Linked DNA regions of Homo sapiens: region 1 is linked to region 2. The links are contacts of gene promoters, found by promoter capture Hi-C in human tissues and cell types (Jung and others, 2019). All regions are on one chromosome and are shown on one strand. Each heading gives the region's core, a stretch centred on a gene start or on the middle of the fragment in contact. The rest is flanking DNA. Distances are from core to core; before and after follow the strand shown. Region 1 overlaps AFF1 (ALF transcription elongation factor 1). Region 2 holds the start of PKD2 (polycystin 2, transient receptor potential cation channel).

Region 1 (6,376 bases), core at 3,700-6,199, 1.1 Mb before region 2:
CTACTCAGTAGCCATTCCTGTTTGTTCTTGTTGTCACTAAAAGAACTTTAATTGCTAAGAGACTACATTTGTCCAGTCTTAGGTAATAGATCATGTTTGTTCTCAGCCAGTGGTGACAGTTTGTATCTTGATTTACCTGCTTCCTTTAAAGCTAGAAGAACCTGGGTGACCTAGTTCTGGTTTTTTGATGGTAAAGATTTTTGGCAAAAATAGACAAATATGTCAGGCAAAGCCACACCTTCCTCTTCTCCTCCTCTTCGTGCCTTGAATATGAATGAGATCTCTCGTTCATAAGATGGACCATGGCAAGCATGAAGACAACATGCTAAATAGGCAAAGCAGAAAAAGTCAGAGTTCCTGATGCCTCATTGCATAGCTAACAGTATGCCAAGTAGCCACCCTCTTCTAGACTTGCTGTAGGAGAAACATAAACTTCTATTAATTTAAACAGTTATTACTTACAGCTAAACACATTCCTAACCCATATAATAAGCATAATGGAGTAGAGAGTTGTGGGTTGGCTGGAGAGAGTCCTTGAGGGACAGCATTGTCACATTAGCTTTGAGAGTCAGTGGAGGCCTCTCTGAGAATGTCATTGGAGCTGAGCACCTAATGATCAGAGGGAGCCAACAATATGTGGGATGTGTACTTGAGTGTAGCGTAGCACCAGAACCCCGTTGAACAAAACTTCAAAGTGTAGAAGAGATAGTTGGGGAAATTGTATTCCTTTATGGATTTCTGAGCTTGTGAGGTCCATGTGCATTGGAGAGCCTAGAGGAACTGTAGATGATCAGGTCAGTTTGGGGTCCTGGGAGATTATGATCTCTCCCAGGGGTAGATCTCTCTACTAGGGGTAGAGTTCTAGAGAATCAGACTAAAACAGAATGTATGTCCCATGACTTATCCCTAACACATTGCCTGTTACCAAGAGACTGTTATTCCTGGGTAAAGGAGAAGTATAGTTGACGAGGGACTAACTAGCCTACAGGCCTCTGAACAGAGTAATTTTTCTCATATTCTCCTTTGGAAACTAGATTGTGGTCCGGGGACTGGGGAGCTGCTTGCTCTGTTTGTCCAGTTGAAAAGTTCCCAGGCTGGGCTCAGTCGCTCACACCTGTGATACCAGCATTTTCGGGACCAGCCTGGGCAACATGGCAAACTCCTGTCTCTACAAAAAATACAAAAATTAGCCGGGTGCAGTGGCTCATTCCTGTAATCCCAGCACTTTGGGAGGCTGAGGTGGGCAGATCACCTGAGGTCGGGAGTTTGAGACCAGCCTGACCAACATGGAGAAACCCCGTCTCTACTAAAAATACAAAAAAATTAGCCAGGCGTGGTGGTGCATGCCTGTAATCCCAGCTACTCGGGAGGCTGAGGCAGGAGAATCGCTTGAACCCTGAAGCGGAGGTTGTGGTGAGCCAGGATCCTGCCATTGCACTCCAGCCTGGGCAACAAGAACGAAACTCTACCCAAAATAAAAAAAACAATAATAACATAAAATGAAATAAGCCAGGCATGGTGGCACACATCTGTAGTCCCAGTTACTCTGAAGGCTGAGGTGGGAGGTTTACTTGAGCCCAGAAGGTTGAGGTTGCAGTGAGCCATGACTGTGCCACTGCACTCCAGCCTGGGTGACAGAGCAAGACCCTGTAAAAAAAAAAAAAAAAAAAAAAAGTCTTCCCTAGTGTGTGGAATTGCCCCAGCACATGGTTTGGCCAGCCAAAAAAATAACTAGAACAACCACTATCATTTATTGAATGTTTACCATGAGCCAGTCATTGTGCTAAAACTTTTACAAACATTATGTCCCCGACGACAATCCCATGAAGCCCCTGTATTACTGATGAGAAAGCTGAGGCCTTAAGAAGAATAATTTTCTGGAGGTTTTTTTTTTTTTTGGACAGTCTTGTTCTGTCGCCCATGCTGGAGTGCAGTGGCGCGATCTCAGCTCACTGCAAGCTCCATCTCCCAGGTTCACGCCATTCTCCTGCCTCAGGCACGCGCCATCACGCTTGGCTAATTTTTTTTGTATTTTTAGTAGAGATGGGGTTTCACCATGTTAACCAGGATCGTCTTGATTTCCTGACCTCGTGATTTGCCCGCCTCGGCCTCCCAAAGTGCTGGGATTACAGACAGCCGCGGCGCCCAGCCTCGAGGTCTTATAGCTAGTTGCAAAGCAGGTCTTTTACCAGCATGTGGTAAAGACTCTTGAGAGTAGGTTCCCCAGAGTGTACTAGGTTTGGAAGCACTTAATGACCTAAGTGAACAGAATATTTGAAAACATCTTGAGTCACTTTTTATATTCATCTTCTCCCTTTTTTTCTATTTATGTATGTATGTGGTGTGAGTGTCCATAAAACTTACATATATGTGTATATACTCACATGTATGTGTATACACACTCTTGAATTATGAATTGTTTGAGGAAGAAAAGCAGTTTGATACACATGACATTTTAATTTCTGAATAAATTTGGTAAGCAAGAGAGGGAGGACTATAGAAAGGTCACTTAGATAGTAATGTACATTCCTGCCATGGAACATTCCAAAATGAAATAAAGTTTGCATCATTCACATAAAATTTAGTGTGGATATAGCTGCTACCATGTGTCAGTGTGCTAGGTATTTTAGCTAGGTGATATAATATATGCTTCTCAGTTACTCTGGAAGGTAGGAAGGTCTCTGTTTTACACATAGGGGCATGGAGGCTGATAGAGCTTAACTTGTCCAAGGTGATCATGCAGCTCACTTGAGCCTAGCTGCTTTCTGCTGTACAGCACTACTCTGTTTTTAAATAGAGCCAAGTTAGTATCTTCCTTATTTTCTTTTCCTTTTTTTTTTTTTTTTTTTTTTTGAGGCAGGGCCTTGTTTTTTCACACAGGCTGAAGTGCAGTGGTGTGATCACAGCTCACTGTAGCCTCCACCTCCTGGGTTCAAGCTACCCTCTCACCTTAGCCTTTTGAGTAGCTGGGACCACAGACATGTGCCACCTTGCCCAGCCTTTCCCAATTTTTTTTTTTTTTTTTTTTTTTTAGACAGGGTCTCTGTTACCCAGGCTGCAGTGCAGTGGCACAGATCACAGTTCACTGCAGCTTCCTCCTTCCTGGGCTCAACCAATCCTCCTGCCTCAGCCTCCTCAGTAGCTAGGACTACAGGCATGTGCCACCATGCCCAGCTAATTTTTCTATTTTTGTAGAGACAAGGTGTCACTGTGTTTCCAGGGCTGATCTTGAACTTAAGCAGTCCTTCTACCTTGGCCTCCCAAAGTGTTGGGATTACAGGCATGAGCCACCATGCTTGGCCCATGGAGGATTATATTGAAAGATTGATAGCATAACAGAATAAAAGGTGAAAATGCCCTTTTAAATCTCCTGCTCTGGCCTCTTCACCAAAGCTCTTCCCTTTCCAGAAAGCTACTATTAACAGTTTGGTATATGCTATTCCAAACTTTGTGTGTATGCATAAACTTAAAGCATTAAACAAAAAATTGGCTCACATTGTACATTTTATTTAGATCTTGCTTAGATTAACCCATGTGGTTCTTTTTGATGTTTTAAGGCATCTCATTATGATGTATCTGTAGTGCTCCTGAGCGGTGAGACCTGGGGGGTTGCTCACTCCTTCAGTTTTCTACTTATCAGTCCCGAGGACCCTTTTCCACTACAGATCTCTATGGCTTGCTCCTCACTTTAAGTCTTTGCTCAAATGTTGTGTTCTCTGACCACCCTACGTAGAACCGCAATACCCTACCTTGATTCCTCTCTGCACTCCCATTTTGCTTTTCTAACATCTATATATTTTACTGAATGTGTCTTTGCTTACCTTCTGTAGTATGTAAGCTCAATGGTAGCAAGAGTCTTTTCTTCACTATATTTTTTATGTTTTTTGAGGCAGGGCCTTGCTGTGTTACCCAGGCTGGAGGGCAGTGGTGCAATTTCAGCTCACTGCAACCTACATCACCCCCACCCCCCACCCACCCCCACCTGCATCCCTACTCAAGCAGTCCTCCCACCTCAGCCTCTTAAGTAGAGTAGCTGGGAACACAGGCATGCACCTCCACACCTGGCTATTTATTTTTATATTTAGCAGAGACGGGTCTTGTCATGTTGCCCAGGCTGGTCTTGAACTCCTGAGCTCAAGCATTCAGCCAACCCTGGCCTCCCAAAGTGCTGGGATTACAGGTGCACACCCGGCCCACTCTCTTTATTCTTAGTACCTGGCTTACAGCAGATGCTCAGGATACATTTGTTGGTTCTGTCAGTCAGTCAACAAACAAGTGAACTCAGGACCCCTCTCAGATTGATAGCCACCCAACAGCCCAACCTGTCTCCTTTTCTCCTGTTATCACTCTCCACCAAAGAGCCCTAGGGGTGGGTGCTATTGGGTTGCAAGCAGGTTGAGCATCTTCACTGGGAGGGTAATGTGGGGAACTGCCATCAGGGACTCTTCAGATGCCTCTACAGAAGTGTTATGAAGAATAATGCCAACAGGAATACAATAGTGTTTTATTGATCACTTACTGTGTGCCAGCCCTGCAAGTCAAGAGAGAGAAAGTGTGAGCAGCAAAGGCAGGGGTAGAGCTAGCGATGCAGAGAAAGAGAAAAAGGAGAAAGTGAGCGATAGTAAGTGGTGAGGGAAGGGAAGGGAGACTAGTGGGGATTGAGTTGGAGAATTGAGAAAACTTGCCTAGGGGGCCACTATTGCTGGTCAGAAGAGTGACACATGTTTGACCCTGAAAAGTAGATCTCTGCTAGTGTGAGTTTAACTAGAATATTTTAACATCCATGCTGCAATCTTTTGAGAGAGGAGAAAGAGTGGCAAATTATGTCTGCTAGTATGGAAACATGTAGTTAGCAAGTCAGCAATTTAAATTTCATGGAGAGGGAGATAAAAGACCTTATCGGGAGTAAGAATAGAGCTGTGAAGGACTATATTCAGTGTTTCAACCTCAGCCAAAGTTGTAACAGCCTCTTAAACAGAGGCAAGTTAAAATGATTACAAATTTAATGTGTGTTTCCATTTGTATCAAATGGTTTGTCCAGTCTGTACTAAGATAATTTAGTAACATACCTTTCTTTGCCTTAAGGATGTTTGAAAAGTAAAACAAACTATTTAATGCAAGTTAGGATAAGTGTAGTCAATTTATAAATACTCACTAGAGAGGGAAAAGGAAACAGCTGTAGACAGTGTTAACCATAAAGAGAGGTTGTTTCCAGAGTTACCCAAGATAGTACCAAGACTATCTGCCCAGATTGGATAATAATTTTTCCCCCAAATTCAGTCTTGTTTTGAAAGAATGCCCAATAGTTGTTTTATTTCGGTTTTTGTTTGTTTTTTTTTTGTTTTGATTAAGTACCTTTAATGAGTGGAAGTAAAATCTTAAGATTGATTGTCACTGGGACCCACTTTTCTTAAGTGTTGCATTCTTATGTGAGAATGACCTGTTGATTTCCTTTCTCTTGCATAGTTGACACTCTTACCTTTTCTTCCTTTTAATTCTAGTGAGGATGCTGACACAACCTGTGACCTTAGGCAAATTACTTAAAACTAAGTCTACATTTCTTGGTTGTTTTTTTTTGTGTGTGTTTGAGTCTCCATTTTCTTAACTATAAAATGGGATATTAGTATCTGCCTTGCAACTTTATTGTAATGTATTAATGAAATGCCATTTTTAAAAGGGCTTATTTATATTTAACACAATGCTTGGCACAAAGTAGGCACCAGGGGAATGGTATTTCCTTTTCTCCTCCCCCTCCTCCTTATGGTAAACTTGTGCACATTGTTTTCTTGCTGAAATGGCTTTGAGAAGCAGCCTCACAGTTAAAAGTGCAATTGGCCTTTGATATATACTAGATAGTTTGTTCATACAACTTGGGAATTGGAGAACCATTTTCTAATTCAAATGAGAACTTGGAATTCTGTCTCCAATAAAGCTTCTTACAGGTCATGCGTATCCCTGAATTTACTCACAGGCTAATGTTCACAGGCTACTCTTTGTTTCTCTTTCAGATGAACAGACTAGCCACTTTGCATTGACTGGAAACAATGGCATTTACAGAAAGAGTCAACAGCAGTGGCAACAGGTAAGCATAGAATCTATGATTCAAAGACATGCTGATATTTAATTTTATAATCTACTTTTCAATGAATAAGTTTGGTCTTTTTCAATTTTGCAACTTAAGAACTCACGGGTGCAAGAAAATGTTTGAAATTTTCAGTTTTCTCTACATGAAGTCAAACTTGTTGGACTGGCTACATATTTTCTTTTAAATCTAGCAATCGCTGAGTCTGTTAACTCATTTTTTTTAAAAATGTGGATGTTAATTTAAATGATTAAATCAGCATTCTAATGCTGTGTTCAGGATAACAAGATTGCA
Region 2 (6,567 bases), core at 645-3,144:
TAGCAGCATGTTATATGTGCCTAGAGAACAAATGAATAATTCATTAAGGTGGATGGATGGCATGGGATGCCATGCTAGAGGAGTACATTAAGAGCTGTTAAAGCTAAATTGTGTCCCCCCAAAAATTTCTGTGTTGAAGTCCTAACCCCCATTACCTCAGAACATGACCATACTTGGAGACAGGGTCTTTACAGAAGTAATGAAGTGAAAACAAGGTCATGAGGGTAGGCCCTAATCCAATATGATGTATAAGAATAGACAATTAGGACACAGACGCATACAGAGGGAAGAGGGAAGACGGCGTGAGGACACAAAAGCGGGGCCATCTGCAAGCCAAGGAGAGAGGCCTCAGAAGAAACCAACTCTGCCAACACCTCGTGAGAAAATACAATTTTTCTTTTCTTTTTCCTTCCTTCCTTCTTTTTTTCTTTCTTCTCTCTCTCTCTTTCTTTCTTTATGAGACAGAGTCTCACTCTGTCACTTGGAGTGCAGTGGCCCGATCTTGGCTCACTACATCCTCTGCCTCCCGGGCTCAAGCGATCCTCCCACCTCAGCGTCCCTAATAGCTGGGACCAAAGGCACACACCGCAAAGCCTGGCTAATTTTTGTATTTTTTGTAGAGACAAGGTGAGCAAATAAATTTCTGTTAAGCCACCCAGTCTCTGGTACTTTGTTATGGCAGCCCTAACAAACAAATACAGGAGCAGATTATGAGAATTTACTAAACCAAACCACAGAAATTAAATTTTATCCTTTCAGCTGCCAGAAGCCCACAGAGGTGTCTAAGCATCAACGTGACAAATAAGCAGCTTTGGTTCTGCAATATAACCTGGAAATAGTGAGGACACCGACGTGGAGAATAGAGATGGGAGTTGACAGGGATCAATTGTTCTAATGCGGAATAATGCAAGACATAAGATCAAGCCAGCAGGAGTGAGAAACAGAGATCATATCAGGGTGATATCTGTGGGGCAAAAGTAACAAGAAGATAAGGTGTAGGCGGTGGAGGGTAAACCGCGAGGCTTCCATGAAGAAGAGTGGCCTGGGAAGTGAGGAGGACAGCGAAGCCCCAAACCTCACCTTGGGATACGGGAAGTGAAGCAGGTTCCAGAGAAGGGGACAAGATAATGACTTAGGGTAGGATAAATTTCAGACAATTGCAGAGCATCACATTAGATGTGTTCAGAAGAGTGGAAATAAAGTTCTGTGCCTAGGCCCTCATGCAGGATTCTGTTGCTAGAAGTCAGTGCTGGCCGCAGGGAGACCGGAGATCACAGTGGAGGCACCAGCGATCCGAGAGTCCTATGACGAATCCCTGGGATCCCCACAATGTGTGGAGACAGAAGCCAACCAAAGAGCGAGAAAGCATCTCCAAACCAGCAGAATCAGGGGCAGGAGGCCCGCCAAATGCACAGCAAGTCAGCCTTGGTAGTTTGCAAATGGAAAGATTTCTTTGACCCGCTGGAGACTTCAGCTCAGGCTGGATGTCGCTAATTCACACCATCTCACCAAAAGGTTCTTTCCCTGCCCTTTGGTGAATCGAGGCAGAAGTGGCTGGTGGATAACTGGGACCCAAGAGTTATCTCAGCGTCGGGCAGGCATCGACAGCTCCAGGAGCCCTTTCCCTGCAGGCGGGCTGGCGGGTGAGCGATTCCCTCCCTTCCCAGGCCTTCCCGGGAATGGAACGTGGGCGCCCGCGCCCGGGCTCCGGTTCCACTTGGAACGCGGACTCGGGAGCCGCCGGGCGAGCGCGCAGACCGCGGGGGCGGCTCCCTCGCACCTCCCCGCTCAGCGCGCCGCGGCGGATGGGCGAGGCGGGGCGAGGCCAGAGGGAGGCGGGCCAAAGGGGCGGGCGAGAGGACGCGGGACCGCGGGGAGGTCGGGGGCGGGGAGCAGGCGGCGGCGGGCGCCGGGAAGAAAGGAACATGGCTCCTGAGGCGCACAGCGCCGAGCGCGGCGCCGCGCACCCGCGCGCCGGACGCCAGTGACCGCGATGGTGAACTCCAGTCGCGTGCAGCCTCAGCAGCCCGGGGACGCCAAGCGGCCGCCCGCGCCCCGCGCGCCGGACCCGGGCCGGCTGATGGCTGGCTGCGCGGCCGTGGGCGCCAGCCTCGCCGCCCCGGGCGGCCTCTGCGAGCAGCGGGGCCTGGAGATCGAGATGCAGCGCATCCGGCAGGCGGCCGCGCGGGACCCCCCGGCCGGAGCCGCGGCCTCCCCTTCTCCTCCGCTCTCGTCGTGCTCCCGGCAGGCGTGGAGCCGCGATAACCCCGGCTTCGAGGCCGAGGAGGAGGAGGAGGAGGTGGAAGGGGAAGAAGGCGGAATGGTGGTGGAGATGGACGTAGAGTGGCGCCCGGGCAGCCGGAGGTCGGCCGCCTCCTCGGCCGTGAGCTCCGTGGGCGCGCGGAGCCGGGGGCTTGGGGGCTACCACGGCGCGGGCCACCCGAGCGGGAGGCGGCGCCGGCGAGAGGACCAGGGCCCGCCGTGCCCCAGCCCAGTCGGCGGCGGGGACCCGCTGCATCGCCACCTCCCCCTGGAAGGGCAGCCGCCCCGAGTGGCCTGGGCGGAGAGGCTGGTTCGCGGGCTGCGAGGTAAGAGCGCGCGACCCGCAGCGGCAGATGCACGAACCAGAACGGCCGGCGCCGGCCGGGGCCATCGCCCGCTGCGGCAGCTCCCCGGGCTCCATCTCGCATCCCCTCTGCGTTCCGCCTCCCTTGGAAGCGCATTCCCCACCTCCGCTAGTGCTGCCCTATTTCCGGTACCCAGCGCGGAATTCCACTGCTCTTTTGTTGGTGCATATTTATTGGATACCTCCTTCTTCAGGATATGTCACCATAGTCTTTTTTACTGAAAATTAGTGAAAGCCTAATTAGAGTGAAAGAGTACATCTGGGTTTTGTTTTTTTTTTTCTTGTAGAGGAAAAAATGAACATTACTTGTGTAACTGATGGTAGTTGCAACTGCATATTTGCCAATGTCACAAAATCTAAAGGAAAATGTTATAGTCACCCGTGGTTTCCTTCTTGCCTGGACACTCCATTGTCCCGGGCTGAAAAGGGTAGCAGTACAGTGCATATAATGTCAAGTTGTGGGAGGAGTGTGGCAGATTGTCATTGGTGCATTTTTTTGGTGATGTGTGTGGTTGTTTTGAGGAGTGGGAGCTGTTAAGAACACCACAAATAGAATAAAATAATATCGTGAAGTTATTTGGCCGTTTCTAATTCTAGACATTTTTCTAAAAACAGTTGCAAAGGAAAGATTACATTGTTTTAAAAAAATTTGAAGTATGTTTTTAAATAACTAAATTAATGTTCTTTGAAATTCCACCAAAATGATGAAGTCACCAGATAGCAGCTGATAAATGTGTCTGAGCCCAGTGCGCCCAGCTCTACAAAAGGCAGAAGAGGAATTTTCAAATTTGCCAGTGCCCAGTAAGAGGACATGAATTTTCTAGTACCAGAGGAAATTCTCTTTTTACAAATTTTGTCAGAGGTATCCTTGGGAAAGTATTTCATTTGCTTTTACCCTCCAAATTATTTTAATCTATATTTTTAAGAGTTTCCATTCTCAGTTGAGTTTTTCTTGTTCTTCTCCTTCTGTCAGTTTTGAAAGTCTTGCACAAAAACAATCCAGGTGTTGTTACAGCAGTGTGATTAAAACCAGGTCAGGCCTACACTGAAATCCCAGTTCCACCACTCATTAGCTGTACGACCTTGAGCAAGTTACTTATCCTCTCTGATACCCAATTTTTGGATTTTTTTTTTTTTTAAAGAGATGATCATAACGCTTAGGACTTGACTCTTTGGGAGAATTAAGTGAGTTAAGACATAAAATGTGCAGCATGTATTTGTCATGTTATTAGCGCTTCAGAAATATAAATGTAAACATTTTGGTACTTCGTTTATGGAGATTCTTATACTAGTTAATTTTATTAAAAGCATGATGGGGAACAGAAGATCCTTTTCGGATAACCTGTGTGAGTAAATTAATAAAACACTAACACTTTTTAAGATTCAAAACTGGATTAATTATGTTATTTTACACCATTTAAAATGTGCATTTAAAAAATATTCACTGAAGTGAGAGAGAAGTTCCTTTTAAGTTAATAAATAATGGTAAGTTGCATGATCCTTTTAACTCAGTTTAAGCATTTGATAACACCCCTAACCTTGTTTGAATAAACTCAATAACAGAATATAGAGAAATAAAATATATATTTCATATGAGTATGTATGTAAATTTATTTCTTTTAAAGGAAAATTTCAGGAAACAAAATGAATAAGCTCATAGTCATAAAACCTCTAGCCAAAGTGTGTCAATGGTCTGATTTGTAGGAGAGCAGACTCAGGAATCGGGAATTTTTTTTTTTTTTTTAAGAGTCGGGGTTTCACTCTGTCACTGAGGCTGGAGTGCGGGGAAGCAAACGTAGCTCACTGCGGCCTCAAACTCCTGGGCTCAAGCTGCCCTCCCACCTCAGCTTCCCAAGTAGTTGGGATTACAGGTGCAAGCTGCTGCTCCTAGCTGAAAAGTTTTAATTATATAAAATGTTTAAATAAATTGTTATTCCTTTCTTTTATGAAGAAATATAATTGATATTCTTGTCACTTATTAAATAAGCAACATTTTAAAATGTTTAGCACCTACTGTGAAGATAGCACTGTGCTAGCTGCTATGAATAAACTAGAATAGCATATCACTGTTTTCCTATGGACAAAAACCCAGAAATGTAAAATAAATAGCCATGAATGGGTTGAGATTCCCCCTGCCCCCTTTGGATACTGATGACAGAAATCTTATATGCACTATGTAAGCAGTGCCCTAGGATCAGAACAGAAAGTAACTTGCAATTTTTAAAGGTGGGAGAAATGACTGAAGTTTGGAGTGGTCAGGAGTTTCCCTGGAAGTCTCTTGCCTTTGTGACTTTGTATAGCTCCCTCAAACTACCTGAGCCTGAGCTCCTCATTTATAAAATGGAAGAATTGAACCTAGCTTCCAAGGTCCTTTCTAGCTTCACCATGCTCTGGTCTGTTGTTTAATGACATGAATCCAAGATGGACAACAAATGGTCGATTTTGCTCCTTCTACAGTAAATAGATCTATCTTCTTAGCAGAAGTAAAATAGTAAAGAAAGAAGACATGTTTGAGGCCTGTTGAGGCCTGTTTGCTGTATGCATTGTATCTAATCAAGGAATTGAGAATGTAGCCCTAAATATTAGGAAGGAGTTGAAAGTTTCTGAGCAGGAACAGAACATGCTGAAAGGAAATTGTGTCAGCAGCATGGTGTACAGGAGAGCTTGGCAGAGAGAAAGGAGGCAAGAAGACCTGTGGGAGGCAGCCAGTAAGGAGGTGAAGAGGGCCTGGACCAAAGGAAGCCAAGGATGACCGAAAGATTTAAAGATGAAGCCCAGATTTAAAAGTATCCTCAAGTATTTGTTTATTCTTTTCTTAGCAAATTCTTTTTAGTACAAAGATAAAATATGGCACTCTGAGTCATAAAATTTTCTGAATTTCAGAAGTTGAATGTTTTTCTGAATGTATCAACCTGTTAAAGTCAGTTCCTGTTTGTTATTTTAGGCGTATATTCTTGGGCTTTTTTTTTTTTTTCCTAGAGAAACTATGAAGTACTAGCTGTGCAAGTCAGGGTGGGCTAAGCTGCTAAAACAGATACCTCCCTCCCCTTCAATACCCTGAAGAACAAGAAGTTAATTTTTTGCTCGTGTAACATTTTAGAGAGGGTATTCCAGGTTGAATACCTGGAATAATGAATGAAATAATAAGTCGACTCTTATTTCTCCTAAAATAATTGGATCTTGACATTGAAATTGGTGTGCTGATTGTATTTAATAAGTGACCTCCAATGCAGTTATTTCATTTTGCCATACTTTATGTAATTTTTATTTTTTCTGCCTTCCCTTTCGATGTCTAAAGGGAAGCATAATTAGTTATTGGAAAGGTTATTGAGACTTAAAAAAAGATTTGAACATGGCTTTGGTTGATGCTACCACACAGAAACTGCAAACATCCAACTCACCGCTCTTAGTTGCTGTTCATGATAGTCTATGCACAGTGACTGATGAATTTAGCCTGTCTTGAGGCTTCAGAACTTAGTCTTATGTCATCACGAGCAGAGCTTTATCCTAAATTACAGGTTTTCAATGGGGGGGGGGGGGAGGGGCAGTTTTGCCCCTCAGGGGACATTTGGCAATCTCTGGAGACATTTTTGATTGTCATACCTGGGGGGATGCCCCTGGCATCTCCTGGGTTGAGGTTAAGGATGCTGCTAATCTACAATGCACAGTACAGCCACCCCACACACACACACTACAAAGCATTCTCCCACCCAAATTGCCAGGAGTGAGGACTTTGAGAAACCCTGCCCTAGACTGTTAAATTCAAAAGGAAATAATGGTTTATTGCTCACAGTGTGCCAGGCACTGTGTTAAACTCCTTATATTCATAGTTTTGTTTTTATCCTCACAACAACCTGTGAAGAAAGAACTCTCATCCGTCACCACTTTACTGTTGAGGGCACTAAGCCTTCTAAAGGTTAAATGACTTGCCCAGGGCCGCA

The links. The method cuts DNA at HindIII sites, captures the fragments that hold promoters and counts their contacts. A contact is called where the count stands out against the background at its distance.
Region 1: a fragment that was not itself captured here is called in contact with the fragment with the promoter of PKD2 in region 2 in 1 of the 25 tissues and cell types used here (hippocampus).

The regions. Positions count from the first base shown.
Region 1 is chr4:86,942,490-86,948,865 of GRCh38, forward strand. AFF1 (ALF transcription elongation factor 1) reads left to right here. Exons shown (of 21, transcript NM_001166693.3): 2 at 6,009-6,082. The coding sequence starts at 6,045. Among named protein-coding and RNA genes, the nearest start is that of AFF1, 11 kb to the left of the region's middle. The HindIII fragment of the contact is 7,842 bases long and covers 1,029-6,376 here.
Region 2 is chr4:88,005,741-88,012,307 of GRCh38, forward strand. PKD2 (polycystin 2, transient receptor potential cation channel) reads left to right here and starts at 1,895. Exons shown (of 15, transcript NM_000297.4): 1 at 1,895-2,588. The coding sequence starts at 1,994. RefSeq lists silencers at 1,658-2,587, 2,638-2,777. The HindIII fragment of the contact is 15,667 bases long and covers 1-6,567 here.